4 separate regions of the Homo sapiens genome follow, and all the other regions are linked to region 1. Evidence: promoter capture Hi-C in 16 types of primary human blood cells and fetal thymus (Javierre and others, 2016). All regions are on one chromosome and are shown on one strand. Each heading gives the region's core, a stretch centred on a gene start or on the middle of the fragment in contact. The rest is flanking DNA. Distances are from core to core; before and after follow the strand shown. Region 1 holds the start of GCSAM (germinal center associated signaling and motility). Region 2 overlaps RMP64 (ribonuclease MRP subunit p64). Region 3 overlaps GTPBP8 (GTP binding protein 8). Region 4 has its middle 2.3 kb from the start of CD200R1.

The links. Contacts are between HindIII fragments. The CHiCAGO score rates a contact against its expected background, and 5 or more counts as called.
Region 2: a contact is called between a fragment that was not itself captured here and the fragment with the promoter of GCSAM in region 1, in 1 of 17 cell types (fetal thymus). The highest score is 5.9, in fetal thymus.
Region 3: a contact is called between a fragment that was not itself captured here and the fragment with the promoter of GCSAM in region 1, in 1 of 17 cell types (total B cells). The highest score is 5.4, in total B cells.
Region 4: a contact is called between a fragment that was not itself captured here and the fragment with the promoter of GCSAM in region 1, in 1 of 17 cell types (non-activated CD4 T cells). The highest score is 5.9, in non-activated CD4 T cells.

What each region holds. Positions count from the first base shown.
Region 1 is chr3:112,131,141-112,134,863 of GRCh38, forward strand. It overlaps GCSAM (germinal center associated signaling and motility), which reads right to left and starts at 2,108. Exons shown (of 6, transcript NM_152785.5): 1 at 1,952-2,108. The coding sequence starts at 1,980. It overlaps TBILA (TGF-beta induced lncRNA), which reads left to right and starts at 2,283. Exons shown (of 1, transcript NR_157393.1): 1 at 2,283-3,723. It also overlaps a transcript of C3orf52 not described here. RefSeq lists enhancers at 1,714-1,773, 2,254-2,433. The HindIII fragment of the contact is 3,922 bases long and covers 1,543-3,723 here.
Region 2 is chr3:113,015,169-113,018,891 of GRCh38, forward strand. RMP64 (ribonuclease MRP subunit p64) reads right to left here. Exons shown (of 9, transcript NM_015412.4): 2 at 2,280-2,434. Among named protein-coding and RNA genes, the nearest start is that of NEPRO-AS1, 2.5 kb to the right of the region's middle. The HindIII fragment of the contact is 1,970 bases long and covers 1,370-3,339 here.
Region 3 is chr3:112,995,419-112,999,141 of GRCh38, forward strand. GTPBP8 (GTP binding protein 8) reads left to right here. Exons shown (of 6, transcript NM_014170.4): 4 at 1,474-1,573. Among named protein-coding and RNA genes, the nearest start is that of GTPBP8, 6.3 kb to the left of the region's middle. The HindIII fragment of the contact is 1,944 bases long and covers 1,167-3,110 here.
Region 4 is chr3:112,975,579-112,979,301 of GRCh38, forward strand. No RefSeq gene overlaps it. Among named protein-coding and RNA genes, the nearest start is that of CD200R1, 2.3 kb to the left of the region's middle. The HindIII fragment of the contact is 2,698 bases long and covers 737-3,434 here.

The DNA of each region.
Region 1 (3,723 bases), core at 858-3,357:
CAGAATAAATCCATAAGATAGATATTATCATTATATTTTTTATACTAATGAGGAAACTGAGGCCCAAAATGCTAGGCAACTGGTCTGAGGATCCACAGCCACTAAGGGGGAAAAGCTGGGTTTGCTGCTGGCAGGTCTCTTCCTCTGAGACTGAGCTCCTCTCATGAAGGGATGAGTGCCATTCTATTCTGTGCAAAATTTCCCTGACTTCTTAGCTTATTTGATCTGGAGAGACACGGTTGGGGGGGTATGCTGACTAGATGATAACTGGGTGTTGGGGTGACAATGAAAATTAGATACCAATATATACAAGACTTTTGAATACGTTAACGGAAACATTTTATTTAATTATTTTAATGAATTTATTTTTAAGACTGGGTCTTGCTATGTTGTTCAGGCTGCCCTCAAACTCCTGGGCTCAAGCAATCCTCCTGCCTCAGCCTCCTGAGTAGCTGGGACTACAGGTGCATGCCACTGCACTTGGTTCAAGGGAGACCTTTTAAATCATCATAGAAATAAAGATGTTGGGCAAACTGATCAACTATTTGGAAAAAAATTTACATCTGACACCATATATTGAATATATGTTGCCAAATGTAAAATAACAAAATCAAAACTTATGTGAGTTGATTTGTCTTATCTTAGGAAGAGCAAAGAATTTTAAGCATGAATGCAATGGCAGAAACCAAAAAGCTTTCTAGATTTAAAATCGAATTTTCTTTAAAATAAATAAAAAACCATAAGAAGTCCAAATAGCATAAGATGTGTGCACCTTGGAAAAAGGTTTTTTTTCTTACATAAAACAAAATTTTAAAGTAAAAAAATTTTTTTAAAGTTTTTTTGCACTTATTCAGTGCACGTGATATGCCAGAAACAATGCCAGGAACCAGGAATTCAAAGATAAATAAGAAACAATCACTACATTTGAGCATCTCATATCTAGTAATAAAAATAGTAATTTATATAATTGTTAGAACAATGCTAGAGTAGAAGATTGACAAGGGGCTGTGACAACCCAGGGTAGAGAAGTCTCAGACAACATGATTCTTAGGAAGGGACATGAGATATTCCACAGGACCACCAATCCTCTTTTCGGCAAGTGGTCAAAAGTGGGCTACCATTTTTTCCTGTGTTCCACTCTCCAGTAGCATGAACTGAGACCAGGGATTCCAAACATAACCCTGTGAAGACCCCCTCTGGCTCGCTTACTCTCTCTAGATCACCCCACTTTATACCCTAGAGATTACCTTGTCTGTGGTGGCACTATTTTGGTGGCACGGCTTTGATATTAAGGAAGATGATGGTCAGAAAAAGAAAGCAGAAAATATCTTCTAATTTTGAACCCTACTTTATGTCAGGCACTATGCTAGCACAATACACACTAGAACTCTCTAAGGTAGATATTGTATTATTATTTCTACTTAAAATAAAGAGGCTGAGGTCCAGAAAGTAAATCTGAGTTCTGTGCCTATTTAATCTAGATGACCTCTGCTTACCTGCTTGCAGGGAGTGCACATCAAAGGAAGACTCAAGGTGGCAGGAAGCTTGCTGTTTATTTCAAACTTAAAATAGTGGCTGAAAGAGGGTGGTGATTTTGACCTCCTTGTGGAGCATGAGGAGCTCAGGAGAGCATCTCCTTCCCGGGCTTTCAGAAAGTTGTTTCATTTCTTAGGTGGTAACCTATTATATAGACCTTCCTTGGTAAAGTCTTTCCACCTTTCAGCTATTCTCCATCAGCTGCTCACCATGATTCTTGGGAGAAGGCAAAACCTATGGGAAATTTAATGTGGTATCTGGCACAGAGTAGGCACTGAAGGCTTGGCAGTTTCCTTACCCAACTACTTTCTACCCCAACTTAGTGTGCTAACTGTATACTAGCTTTCTTTTTCTCTTCCTTGCTGTATTGTCCTGTCCCATCTCCTCTGCTCTCCCACAGGGAGTCTAGACTTACCTGTTTTCTCTCAGCAGAGAATTTCCCATCCTCTCAGTCCTCTCAGGGCTTCCCCTCCGTCCCTTTACCACTTCCTTCTTGCCTTGTGCTCTGACAGGGCAACTCCTGACTTAAAGAAAGGGCTGTGTGGCTCTGGCCACCCGTGCAGAGACAGCAGAAAGGAGAAGGGTGTCTCTGCAGAGGGAAGGAAGAGGCTGGGGGAGGAGTGTTAGAGGCACGCATGTGCAGAATGTCCTAACATGTCAGTGCCTGAACCAACCTGGCTGTTGGCCATAACCAGCAACTACCCGTCAATGAGAGCTTCGAACCTCTGGGGAATCCCAGGTCTGAAATTACAGATGGGCCATGGGAGTTTTTCCACTACAGATATTTACGTTTATAAATCACGTTGTCTTCTTAGAAAAGTCAGAAGGAGGTTAAAACAGTCAAGCCACAGACCTGTAGAAAATATAGTATCAACAACTCTCAAATCTGAAAACAAACACCCAGTAACAAAATGGGCAAAATATTTGAACAGACATTTCACCAAAGGAACTATACAGATGAACATTAAAAGATGCTAAACATTGTAGTTATTAGGGAAGTGTAAATCAAATCCACAATGGAACACTTTTACATACTTATTACAATGGCTATAAAACCCTGACAATATCAAGTATGGCAAGGTATGCAAAGCAACTGGAAGTCTCATGCATTGCTGATGAGAATGCAAAATGACAGCCTTTTTGGAAAGAAGTGATAAGGACAGAAGGCAGGGCTTTACTGGGTAGAAGAGGGTGGTTCACTGGCAAAGGTCCCACCCTCAAGCCTTGAAACCGAAGCCCTAAATGAGAACAGTTATCCCTGTTATCCTGCCCAAATGTTACTCTTTAGCCTGTCCAGCCCCCCTATCCCGTGCCCATATAAACCCCAGACCTCAGCTGGCAGACAGACAAGCGGCTGAACATCAAGAGGAGAAGAAGCAACTGAGTGTCAGAGATGTGGCTTAACTTCAGGTGGCATGACTTCAGGGAGGAGCCCGGCCAGAGACAGCAGACTTCAGGGAAAGGTCACTTTCTTCCTGCACCATCCCCTTTGCAGCTCCCCTTCCACTGAGAGCCACTTCCACCATTTAATAAAATCGTCCACATCCATCAACTTTCAAACCATTCATGCAACCTGATTCTTCCTGGATGCTGAACAAGAACCTGGGTACCAACAGGGCAGGGTGTAAAAGGCTGCCACCCTGACTCTCCATTGAGTGGGTTAACACTTAGCTGTCCACGGATGGCAACTGCTAAAAGAGCATGAATTGTAACACATCCCTAAATGCTGCTGTTGGGCTGGAGCCCAAAAGTGCTCATCGAAGCCCTGGCACCCGCTTGCCTGCGTGCTCCCGCTCCCACAGAGAGTTTGAGCATGGTGGTGGCCAAGTAAGTAGGCCACACCCCTGTCGCAAGTCCCGAGAAGGGGTCAAGGGAACTCTCCCATCTCAGAAGTATGGCAATTTCTTATAAAATTGAACATAGGGTTACTGTACAACCTGGCAATTTCACTCCTAGGCATTTAGCCAAGTGAAACTTATGTCCTCTAAGACTGTGTGTACAAATTTTTATATGTGCTTTACTCATAATAGCCGAAATACCCTGGAAATAGCCCAACTGATCTTCATTGAGTGAATTGCTAAATAAGCTCTGTGTTATATTACATCCACACAACAGAATCCTGACCATCATTGAAAAGGAGTGGACTATTAATACATGCAATAACTTGGATCAATCTCAAATGCATTA
Region 2 (3,723 bases), core at 1,105-3,604, 880 kb after region 1:
CCTGAGGACTACAGAATTCCTACAGCATTTTGTACCATGCATGGCTCTTACTTTTTTTAAAAAAAATTAAAAATCCTATTGAGTGCTTACTGAACACTGTTCTAAGAACTGGATTATGGTGGTAAACAAAAGGGACAAAATACATTGCCCTTGTGGAGCTTACATTATAGCTGGGAGAGAAAGGCAGTCAATCAATGGCAGGTGGTGTTAAGTGCTATGAAGACAAATAAGGCAGAGAGGGAGTGCTGAGAAGATTGCAATTTTAAATAGGGTCTGTTTTTATTTTAGCATTTAATTAAATATTTTACATGTCTTCCTATTTTTACTACTAGATTTTTAGCAACTAGAGATAGGGAAGTTTCTAATACCACTTTATCTGCCAGCATGCCCTACATGTACTCCACAGAACAGGAATCAAAACTACTTTCTGTGTTCCATTTAGGGGAATGTTTAGAGACAGGCCAATTCTAGTACTTACATGAAAGTTCTCTGAAAACTGTGAAATATTAAGCAGTTGTAAGGCAGTAGTAGAAGTGGTAATAGCAGCTGCAGCAGTAACATAAGCATAAAACATGTTTCCTACTTCAGGGATCACATGGAATATAAAATATATACACAAATAACTTTACCATGACACAGACTATATTAAATGCTATAAGTACAAAGAGGAGGCCCAAATAGCCAAGAATTTAAAAAAAAAAAAAAAAAAGCAACTTCAGTAATAATCAGAAAAATACAACTTAAAATGAGATTACTATAACACAGATTATCACTGCCAGAAAGGCTTAAAATGGGACTTAGAGGATAGGAAGGCCTTTAACAGGCAGACATGGTGAGGCTGGGCATTCTAAACATACAGGACCAGGTAAGCAGACTCAGAAGCAGGAACAAACATAGTGAGCATGCAGGTGTGTTGAGTCCAGGTTGGCTGGAATATAATCTATCTGAACGCAAGAGAGAAGCCCGAACTAAGAAGACTGAAGAGGCCAGATCACAGATCTCGTAAGCCAAACTAAGAAGTTTGGTCTTTACTCAGGACACAATGGAGAACGACTAAAAATCAAAGTTGTGTTTTCAGATGATTAACCTGGTTTTAATATTTAGAATATGCCAGAACTTAGGAAAAGCTGAAGGAGGAAACATCAGTTATGATAGTAAGACAACTAAAAGTTGACAAGGTCTAAGAAAGGAAAATGGCAGCCAGAACTGAAGAGGGGACCAGATGCAGAGGAAGTTTTGTCTTATGGACTGCCTGGATGGGAGAGCTACGTAAGAGAGAGAGACTAGAGAATGCCAAATTTTGATGACGGGGTGATTATTCACAACCCAGAAGCTAGAAGGAGAAATATATTCACTTTGAGGGTTAGCAAGCTTGCTTTTGGATCAAAAAGACTCCGAAAAAGATAAAAGCCACCCTAGAATGGAAAATTTAGGGAAAGACCATGGTCCCAGATCTTTCTTTGATGAAATCTTCACCCTGTTTGCTTTAAGTACTAGGGGTAGAAAACTAACCAGAAAGCATGCATCTATAAGGTTAGAGACTGTGTCTACCTTTTTCACTCCTCTATACACAGCACTAAGCAGAATGCCTGGCACACAGAAAGTTCAAAAACACTTGCAAGGTAGCCCTGTCACACAATGGATAGCCTTCTGAACTTCCAGAAAATACTTGCAGAATTAAGTGAATGAATGAATGAGCATATCAGGAAGCCAGCTTAAGAGAGGCTCTACTCTATGGTATAGCCCCTGAGCTGGAGGGCCCAATTTTGTCTTAAGCTCCAAACATTACATGAAACCAGTTTACACCACAACTTGCTATGTACCCATTTACTCTAACATACCACCAATTAGATTATGTACCCCATAATAAGTAGACAAGTTTTTTTAAAAATAATTTTAGCATTCTGATTATGCCCAGGGAACTGTTTCTTAATGTCCAACATTTTGTCTTGCTCAAATCACTTTATCTTTGAGCTGGGCAAAGGCACTGTTGTTATAGATTGTATATAATGAAGAAAATGTTTACTTGCCTATTAGAAACAAGACTGGGAAAGAATCTAAACATACTTCTTTTCTAACAAAAATTACTTTTTGAAATGCTGAAATGCTTTTAGGAAAAAAAAAGAAAGTGCACATGTAACTGTGGGCTATAGGCCTATAAAACACAAGTAATTTACTGAGATTTCCACGAGATTTCCATAAATAGCAATATAGTAAGTGGCAGTGTGATCTACATTTTCAAGTGAACAGGTTGGGTCTCACCTACCGGGCTTCCTCACCTGTTTGAGGGCCAAATGGGGTTTGTGGCGGCCCATTCTGTTGTGATTGCTGTAAAGGACTGCACATAACACATCTGTTTCTGCATCTAAGGTTTGGCTCTTCAGCGACAGTATGACGAGATGGCATTCTTTAATTACAGCTGCAATGCAAAGGTCTGAAGCAGAGACATCTAATAAGATTTAGTATGTATTTCTACAGTAAGTATATTATATTAAAAACACACTAAAAAAAGCATCTTTCCTTATTTGTTTTAAAGGAATCAAAAACTAATGTAATCAGTCTCAACTGTAAGAACGTAAGGATTCTAAGTATAAGAGAAGTTGGAAAATGGTAACAGATGATATAAAGTCCAGGAAATCATTAAGAGAACATCTGTAAAACAAGAAGCTGTATCTTTGCATTGCATTTTATCATGGTTTAATAATCTTTCATATGAATACTTTGCTGTCAGTCATTTGGTGTACACTTACGCCTCATGTGTACACTTAACCCCCACCTTGAAGGTAGGGCACATGTCACAACATGTGTAATAACTCTCTAACTCCCCATGTCGCTATGCCCGAAAGCAAGACAGAATGAATAAATTCACAGTCTTCAAAATCAAGGCTTCTGTGTTTGGATATCACTTTATGAGAGACACAAACATATTCAGAAAAGAAAAACCACCACAGTAACTGGAAATCGTATTATTTGATGAACACCGGGTGCTCATCAGCAGATGCTTCCTAGTCTGAAAATCTGTAGAAGTCCCTAAGATGTAGTTCATGTGTTATTTATGGCTCTAAAGGCAGCACTAGCATTCTAAATGGAAGTAAAGGCTGGTTGCTACCTAACAAGAATTTTCTTACTGTCCCAACAACTACCTGAAGACAGAATGGGCTGCCTCGGGGATGGGTAGTGAGTTGGTGAATTTCCCAGGCCTAATAGGAGTTGTTAAAGAATTTTTGAATAGAGAAAGAGGGAAGATTAATCTGTAAAGTGTGTAGGAAGGATAGATGGGATAATCTGTAAAGTGTGTAGGATGGATATATGGGAAAGGGGATGTGATGATCTAAGTCAAGCTTGTCCAACCCGCCTTATTTTGTTGTTCTGTTCTGTTTTGTTTTAGGCTTTTTGCAGCTTAAAGCCATGGTTTTTAGTTTGTCTCTAGTGAAAAGAGGGATGAGGAAAGGGCTTTACCAGCCCAACCGGAAACAAAGAACCCATGACTGTATTCTCTCCCTTGGGCCCCGGAGCTACGTATTTAATATTCATAACAGCTTCCATTTGAGTGTTCATTTACCATGCCAGGCAGTGTTCCAAATGCTTTCTCTACATTATCAACTCTTTCATCCCCCCAAACAGCCCTATGAGGAAGGTGCTTTTATCTCCATTTGAAAGTGAGATCAGTGAGGCACAGAAAGGTTCAATGACTCCTTCAAGCTCCAGCAAAGGGTAGAGCTA
Region 3 (3,723 bases), core at 889-3,388, 860 kb after region 1:
TTTAGGACCAAGGTATATACTGCTTGCTTGTTTTCTGTCTGTGGTTTAGCTTACCCTTAATATTAAATTTAAGTGTTTTCCCAAATTGAGATTGAGAGTAAAGTGTACTTCAGCATTTTTTTTTTCATTTTTTTTTTTGAGACAGTCTCGTTCTGTGACCCAGGCTGGAATGCAGTCATGCAATCTAGGATCACTGCAACCTTCTTCTCCAGAGTTCAAGTGATTCTCCCGCCTCAGCCTCCTGAGTAGCTGAGACTACAGGTGCACGCCACCATGCCCGGCTCATTTTTGTATTTTTAGTAGAGACAGGGTTTCACTGTGTTGGCCAGGCTGGTCTCGAACTCCTGACCTCAGGTGATCCACCCGCCTTGCCCTCCCAAAGTGTGAGATTACAGGCATGAACCACCGCACCTGGCCCATTAATTTTTTTTAAAACCAAACTCTTACCTGGCTAATTTTGAAAATGAAAATTGTTGGTTAAAATCAGTAAATTCTGATCATTCTTAAAATACTTCAGACATCACATTTGCTGCAAATGATATCTCTTTTTTGTCTCCTTATGTAATCAAGTGATAGTTCTAAGAATTGCACAATATATAGAAAATTGATGTTAATCTTTTGAAATGAAAAAAATGTATCTTGTTTGTTGTAGCTTTACATAAGGGGTAAAATCAAATATTTACATAAAATGCAAGATATAATGTGTCTGGTTTCTGTTATCTGTTAGTGTTAGGGTAATATTTAAAAATTCCCATATAGACCAGGCACGCCGGCTCACGCCTGTAATCTCAGCACTTTGGGAGGCCGAGGTCGGCGGATCACTTGAGGTCAGGAGTTCGAGACCAGCCTGGCAACATGGCAAAACCTCAACTCTACTAAAAATACAAAAAAAAAAAAATCAGCCAGGCATGGTGGCACATGCCTGTAATCCCAACTCCTCAGGAGACTGAGGCAGGACAATCACTCAAACCCAGGAGGCAGAGGTTAGTGAGCCAAGATTGTGCCACTGCATTCTACCCTGGGCAACAGAATGAGGCTCTGTCTAAAAAAACAAAAAAAAAAATTTATAACTTATGGTTAATTTTTTATAATTTATGGTTCCTATAATTTATAATCTGTAATTTATGGTTAATTTGATTTGTATCTCTTTCTCCTCCTCGAGTTTAAGCTTTTAGAGGAGGGAACTCACTCATTATATATCAAGTCCCAGGCAGAATGTCTTATATCCAATATATCCTTATTGATTTAAATTAATATTTAGTGAATTTAGTTATTGAAAGTAAATAGCATTGAGACCTACTGGACTGCAGGATAAACTTCTGGCAAATTGAGAATTCCTGTTGCCTAAAGAAATGTTTTAATTTTGGAATGAGAATTATTCAAAGAAGAATTTCTTAGTACAGTAAGGAAGAGGGGATAAATGAATGGGTATATTTTATATTGCCATTAATCTTCTTTTCTACATGCTTATAGCTTGAAGAGAACATTTTTATTAGTGGATAGCGTTGTTGGAATTCAAAAAACAGACAATATTGCCATAGAAATGTGTGAAGAATTTGCATTACCTTATGTGGTAAGTACTTCCTTTGAATCATGGTTGCAATTAGAAATATCAGTTCTACGTGCATCTGTGTGAACATGCACCTTTTAACAATTGAGCTTGTGTTGCCTCAAAAGATAAAGGAGAGTGCCTTTTGAATAATCTTTTCAATTAATCATCCATTAATATTAAAAGAAGTTCTATGGCACTTTTATTCTCTTTTCTGTCACTCAGCTATGTTTTGAAAATTATAGTCAAAGTAAAGGTTTCTTTAGGCTGTTCATTTAATGTTCCTAGATACTGTTCATATTTTTTTCTTTTTATGGCAACATAAACATTTGTTCAGAAAAAGTTAGTAGCTCTTTAACAGCAGCGTGGCAGATAGTACTTATAAGAATGTGAATAAAACTGCAACTTAAAAAGTTGCTTAACTAATTTAAAACTTTAAAATTGTTCCAGGAACATAGCAGCCTCCAGCACACACAAGTAGGATTTTTATATTTTTAAAGCAAACAAAATTTCTTCTGGGAATTTCTTACCAGTATTCTTGGTCTTTTGACCTAGACTAGAATACCAGAATTGTAGATTGGTATCCACATTAATTTTGCTTTGTGAGACTTCCAGAAAAAATGGCACTCTTAAAGTTTCTTTCCAAAGAAAAGTGAAGAACCCAATAACTAATTTGCTTTCAAAAAGATGTCAGCCACTAATATGTAACAGTGGAGTTTAGTACAAATCACACCAAATTACTAGTCAGCCACTTTTGTTTTATTCTTGGGGTCTTGGAATTCTTGGGGTCTGCAAAAGCCCTATGAAGCATTAGAGATGATTTATAGTTATGAGAAGTCAAAGGATTGATAGTCTGCCTAGTAAAAATGCCTAAATATTGCCAAACTAAATAATAGTATTCTTTATTTGGTATCGCAGATACTAGTTTATGAAATCATATATTTTCCTCAATTTTAACTGAAAGGAAATATTACTTTCTTCGTTGGAAAAGGAATTGGAATAGAAAAGTTATATCTGTATCTCCTTTTAAATATCAGAACATTTGCCTTTATGAGGAAAGACTCCCATTTGCGGAGGGGTTCACAAGTCATTAGAAACCACACACTTTCTGCTTCTCACTGTGGGAAAAACACTGGAACCATGTTTTTCCTCTGCTCTCATACCACAACAATTAACACAGAAGACTTCTGTGGCTAAATGTGTAGGGGTTTTTGTCTTCACCAACAACCAGTGGACACAATCCCACAGATTGAGGATTCAGTCCCCAAGACGACTCCTCCCACCCGGCTTCAGACACTAGTCACAATTTTGGGCCTCTAGAATATCTAGACTGGCTTCAAGTTGGGGTTCCAACTACCCCCTCTTTGGGTTTAATTGCTGGAGTGGCTCACAGAACTCAGGGAAACATGTTTTCTGATGGTATTATAAAGTATATTACAAAGGATATAATGAAGATGCACAGAACCTCCATGTCCTCCTTGGGCATGCCACCCTTTGGAAACCTACCTGTGTTCAGCTATTTGGAAGCTCTCCAAACCCAGTCTTCCTGGGCTTTTATGGAAGCTTCATAACATCAGCATCCCTTCCCCCAGGGTATGAGGTGGGACCCTCTCTGGAATGAGGGTCATATGACCACAATCAGAAAGGTGAGAGAAGATTACAAGTCTTGTCTTGGAGCAGGTGAATGGAAGGCAGGAGGTCAGAGAGATTTTGTTTCCTGATGCCTAACATATCCAACATTATAACAAATGATCGTAACAAGGGCTATGGGAGTTATGAGAAAGGAACCATGGACATAAACCAATATATGTATCATGACACCACACTCCTGCCATTAGCATCTTTTATGACTAAAAAGCATGATTTGCCAGGAAATTTAATTTTACAGAAACTCACCAGGAATATCTGGTGGATTAAGGTTTTATTTTTAATTGATTTTTGTAATAATCACCCATACTTTGACCTTTCTGCACTATGTTACTTGTCTCTGGACAAGTAGAATTCTGGACTTACTTGGAATATAACTAGTAGATAGAACCTACAAATAGCCTGATTTCTGATTTTTTTCTTTAGAGTATAGGTCAAAAAATGATTACAAATTGGCAATTTTGTATAGATAAACCCAATATTCATTTATATATCTTAAGCTATCAGGTATATTGTGATCATATGAA
Region 4 (3,723 bases), core at 836-3,335, 840 kb after region 1:
TCAAGGTGTTGGAAGGGCTGCACTCCATCTGGAGGCTCGGGCAGAATTTGCTCCCTGCCTTTTCCAGCGATTTGAGAATGCCTGCATTTCTTGGCTTGCAGCTACATCATTCGGACCTCTGGTCCACTGTCACATCTTCTCTGACTGTGACCCTTATGCCTCCCTTTTATAAAGACCTTGTGATTATTTTTGGTCCACCCAAATAATCCAACATGATCTAATTTCAAGATCTTAATTTAATCACATCTGCAAAGTCCTTTTTGCCACACAAGGTAACATTCACAGGTTTCGGTAATTCGGACATAGGTATCTACCTTGTTGGGGGTGAGGGCATTCTGTTTATCAGAACTCAGTACTTATTGCCATTCAGTTTCACCTTTGGAAAATTAGACTGATCATTTTAACCAAATTACAAATAATCACCCATCTCTTAGTTGCCACACATCTGGAATTCAGACTCCCCCTAACCAAAAAAAAAAAACAACAACAACAACAAAAAAACCTCTTCCTTACTGTTGCTAGTTACTATGTTACTATGCTTTTAAGTTATGTCTGAGAGAGGGAAAAATCTTCTATGTGCTGAGAATTTTCTGCCCCAAGGCAAAACTGTACAGGAAGGGGAAGAAAACATTGCAAACAGGAAAAAGATTAAACAGCATGCATTTTTTTTCTCAGTTAGCAGTTTCATCTTCCTTCTTGCCAAACATTATAAATATTTCCCCCCTTCCCCTTCTCAAGCTTTTTTTTCCAGTTAATTAATTTGATGAAGACAGTGAAACCAGATCCTTGAGGGCATGGAACACTTAAGGGTATGAGCTGTGACAATGGGAAGACCAAAACAAAAATGTCTTCTCTTCTGTCTAATGTTTCACCAGGTGTCGGAAAATTAGTGAGAATACATCATTTAAAATACAGATAATATTCTGGTTTTCCACTACATAGAAGTGAAAGTTGGCCGGGAGTAGTGGCTCATGTCTGTAATCTTAGGACACTGGGAGGCCGAGGCGGGCAGATTGCCTGAGCTCAGGAGTTCGAGACCAGCCTGGGCAACATGACAAAACTCCAAACTCCATCTCTACTTAAAAAAAAAAAAAAAAATTAGCCAGGTGTGATGGCACTCATCTGTAGTCCCAGCTACTTGGGAGGCTGAGGCATGAGAATCGCTTGAACCCAGGAGGCAGAGGTTGCAGTGAGCAGAGAGAAGTTAAAGTTAAAATTCACACTCGCTTAGGATACAGATAGACATAGGGTTAAGTCTCTGTTGTGCAATTACTAGTCCAGTGATACTGGGAAAGTTTCTTACTCAAGTCTGTATCTGTTTATATTATATTGACATTAGCTTTTTCTCATGTCATCAAAAATTCTTGGAGATCATTTATTTTAATATCTGCTCAATGACATAGCCAAAACTAAACCACAGAAGGGCTAAATGGCCTGTGGCCTCAAAACAACTTATTGGCACGGCTGGGAATAAAATGTGTTATATTTCGTAGCCCTGTGTTCTTTTCACTCAACTCCTCTACTTTGAAATTTCAGGCAACAACTTTCATAGACACACTCCAATGCACTCACCTGAGGTCAGACCACAATCTGCAATCAGCAGTTTAAGAATCAAGTGATGGGTATCAAAAACCATAAAATTCACTAAATAGATTTGGCAGGATGACAGTTTCTCTCCCTGGTCCCTCATCCTCTCCACCCCCAAATCACATGCCTGTAACCTCTCAACTCCCACCTTCTACCTTTTATGGACCATGAATGTTTAAAACAATAAAGGGACTAAAAGTTTGTTAACATAATCATCCACTAAAGACATGCCATGAAAGTCAGTATAATAAGAGAAAGATGTGTCTGGTAAATACACCTCTCTAAAAAATCTAAAGGCCCCAAATTCTCCCTGGTTGCGGCCCTTGGGCACAGGACCCAGGAAGCAAAGCAAAAGAGTGAAAAAGGATCAAGAAACAGGTGTCATTCAAACCAGAAACCCAAACCTTTTACTCTACCAGTTTTCCAATTCTCCTTCAATAATACCAGTTAAGAATCATAGCATAAGAGAAACAAACAGGACAATGTAATGCCAGTTAATGTTGTAGCCAAAACAAAAAGACAGAGAAACTTTAGTAAATTAGAACTACTTTAGGCCATAATGCCCCCAAACCAGCATGGCTGGTTTACTCAATTTATCAATTGCAATAAACTGAAAATTGATGTAATAACTATAAATGTTGTTGAAGTAAACTTCTTCCAATCAGGTGTATATCTTTCTCTCCAATGTCAGATTCAGACTTAGCCACACTGAAACCATTTAAGATGAAGTGTTGCAGCCTTCCTCTTGGGATTCCTCCCCATTATGTAGAAGATTTGCATGGCTCTTGAATACTTACTGCAAAGATTCTATGGACTTTTATTCCTGACTTCTCGTTCCCGGGACCCTTTGCTCCCCAGTACCATTGCCGACTCATTCACCTCTTATATTTGAGTCTTGACTGCCGAGAACTTCAGCACCTGCCTGCCCTTCCTACCATAGCTGAATTTTCTGGATGTGCATTCTTGCAAAATGGGCCAATAACTACTTGCCTTGTCACTGTTACTTTTGGTGAACTCTCTGGCTTAGATATCTGGCCTGACTTACCCTTCTATACACTTGCATGTGTGCACACACAAACATAACACACACACACACGCTCACACAAATATGCTAGCGAAACACTTAGTCCTAATTCCCTCAATCTACTCTGTCCTACTGCTAGCCAAGTGGTAACATGCCAATTTCACAGAGGTAAAAAGAACAATACCGAATAGTCTAAAGAATTTCAAGGGACTCAAACTCTACAGCACTCCACTCTTGTCTTTACTTCCTCTCTGCTCCCTTGTACAATAACTACAGATCTGAATCTAATGAATTACCACAGAAATGCTATAATTCAACATACAGTTGCATAAAAAGACTGCTTTCCTGGGCATATTCCATTTTCTATTTTCCAATTTACCTCTCTGTAACCTTCATTGACCCATGCTCTCAAGACTCATCTGAAATCCTGTATCTTCCTCCATGGACAATCATTAAATAGACTAAACAGTAACTTAAAAGAGCCTCAAAAAATGCATACTTCTATTTTTATACCTACTATTATATTGATTTTTCTTGAAAATTTTTACTCCTAATATATGGTTGATCTACGTCAATGTATAAAAAGTCTTCTTAAAAAGTTAGAAAAAATATATCATATTGGAATTAATGATTATTTTTTATTATAATTTTACAGATTATACAAAAAGGAAAATTGAGAAATAGATGTTTGAAAATCAAATGTGTGCAGTATCAAAATAAGCAAAATCAGAGTAGAGAAATTAGTAATCACATTTTATATTTAGCTAAATATCAACTGTAAATCTCACTGGTCAGATCCATAGCAAGTATTTGTCAAGCCCTAAGCTTAACACCCTGATCTTGTTCTAAGCAGTTTATAAATATTACCTAATTTAATTATCTCAACAATCCTATATAGTAAATACCACTTACCATTGAGGAAACTCAAAGCAGAGAGGTTATGTAAATTGTCAAAAGCCACACAGCTGATAAGTGATAGAAACAGGATTCAAGCCCAAGAAATCTCACTCCAAAGTCTACTTCTTAAACTATGTGGCTAATTAGTCTCTGCTTTACTATCTACTTTTTTGAAGGTGGTAACTCTGTTTTGTCTCCAATACATCTCCCAGGTT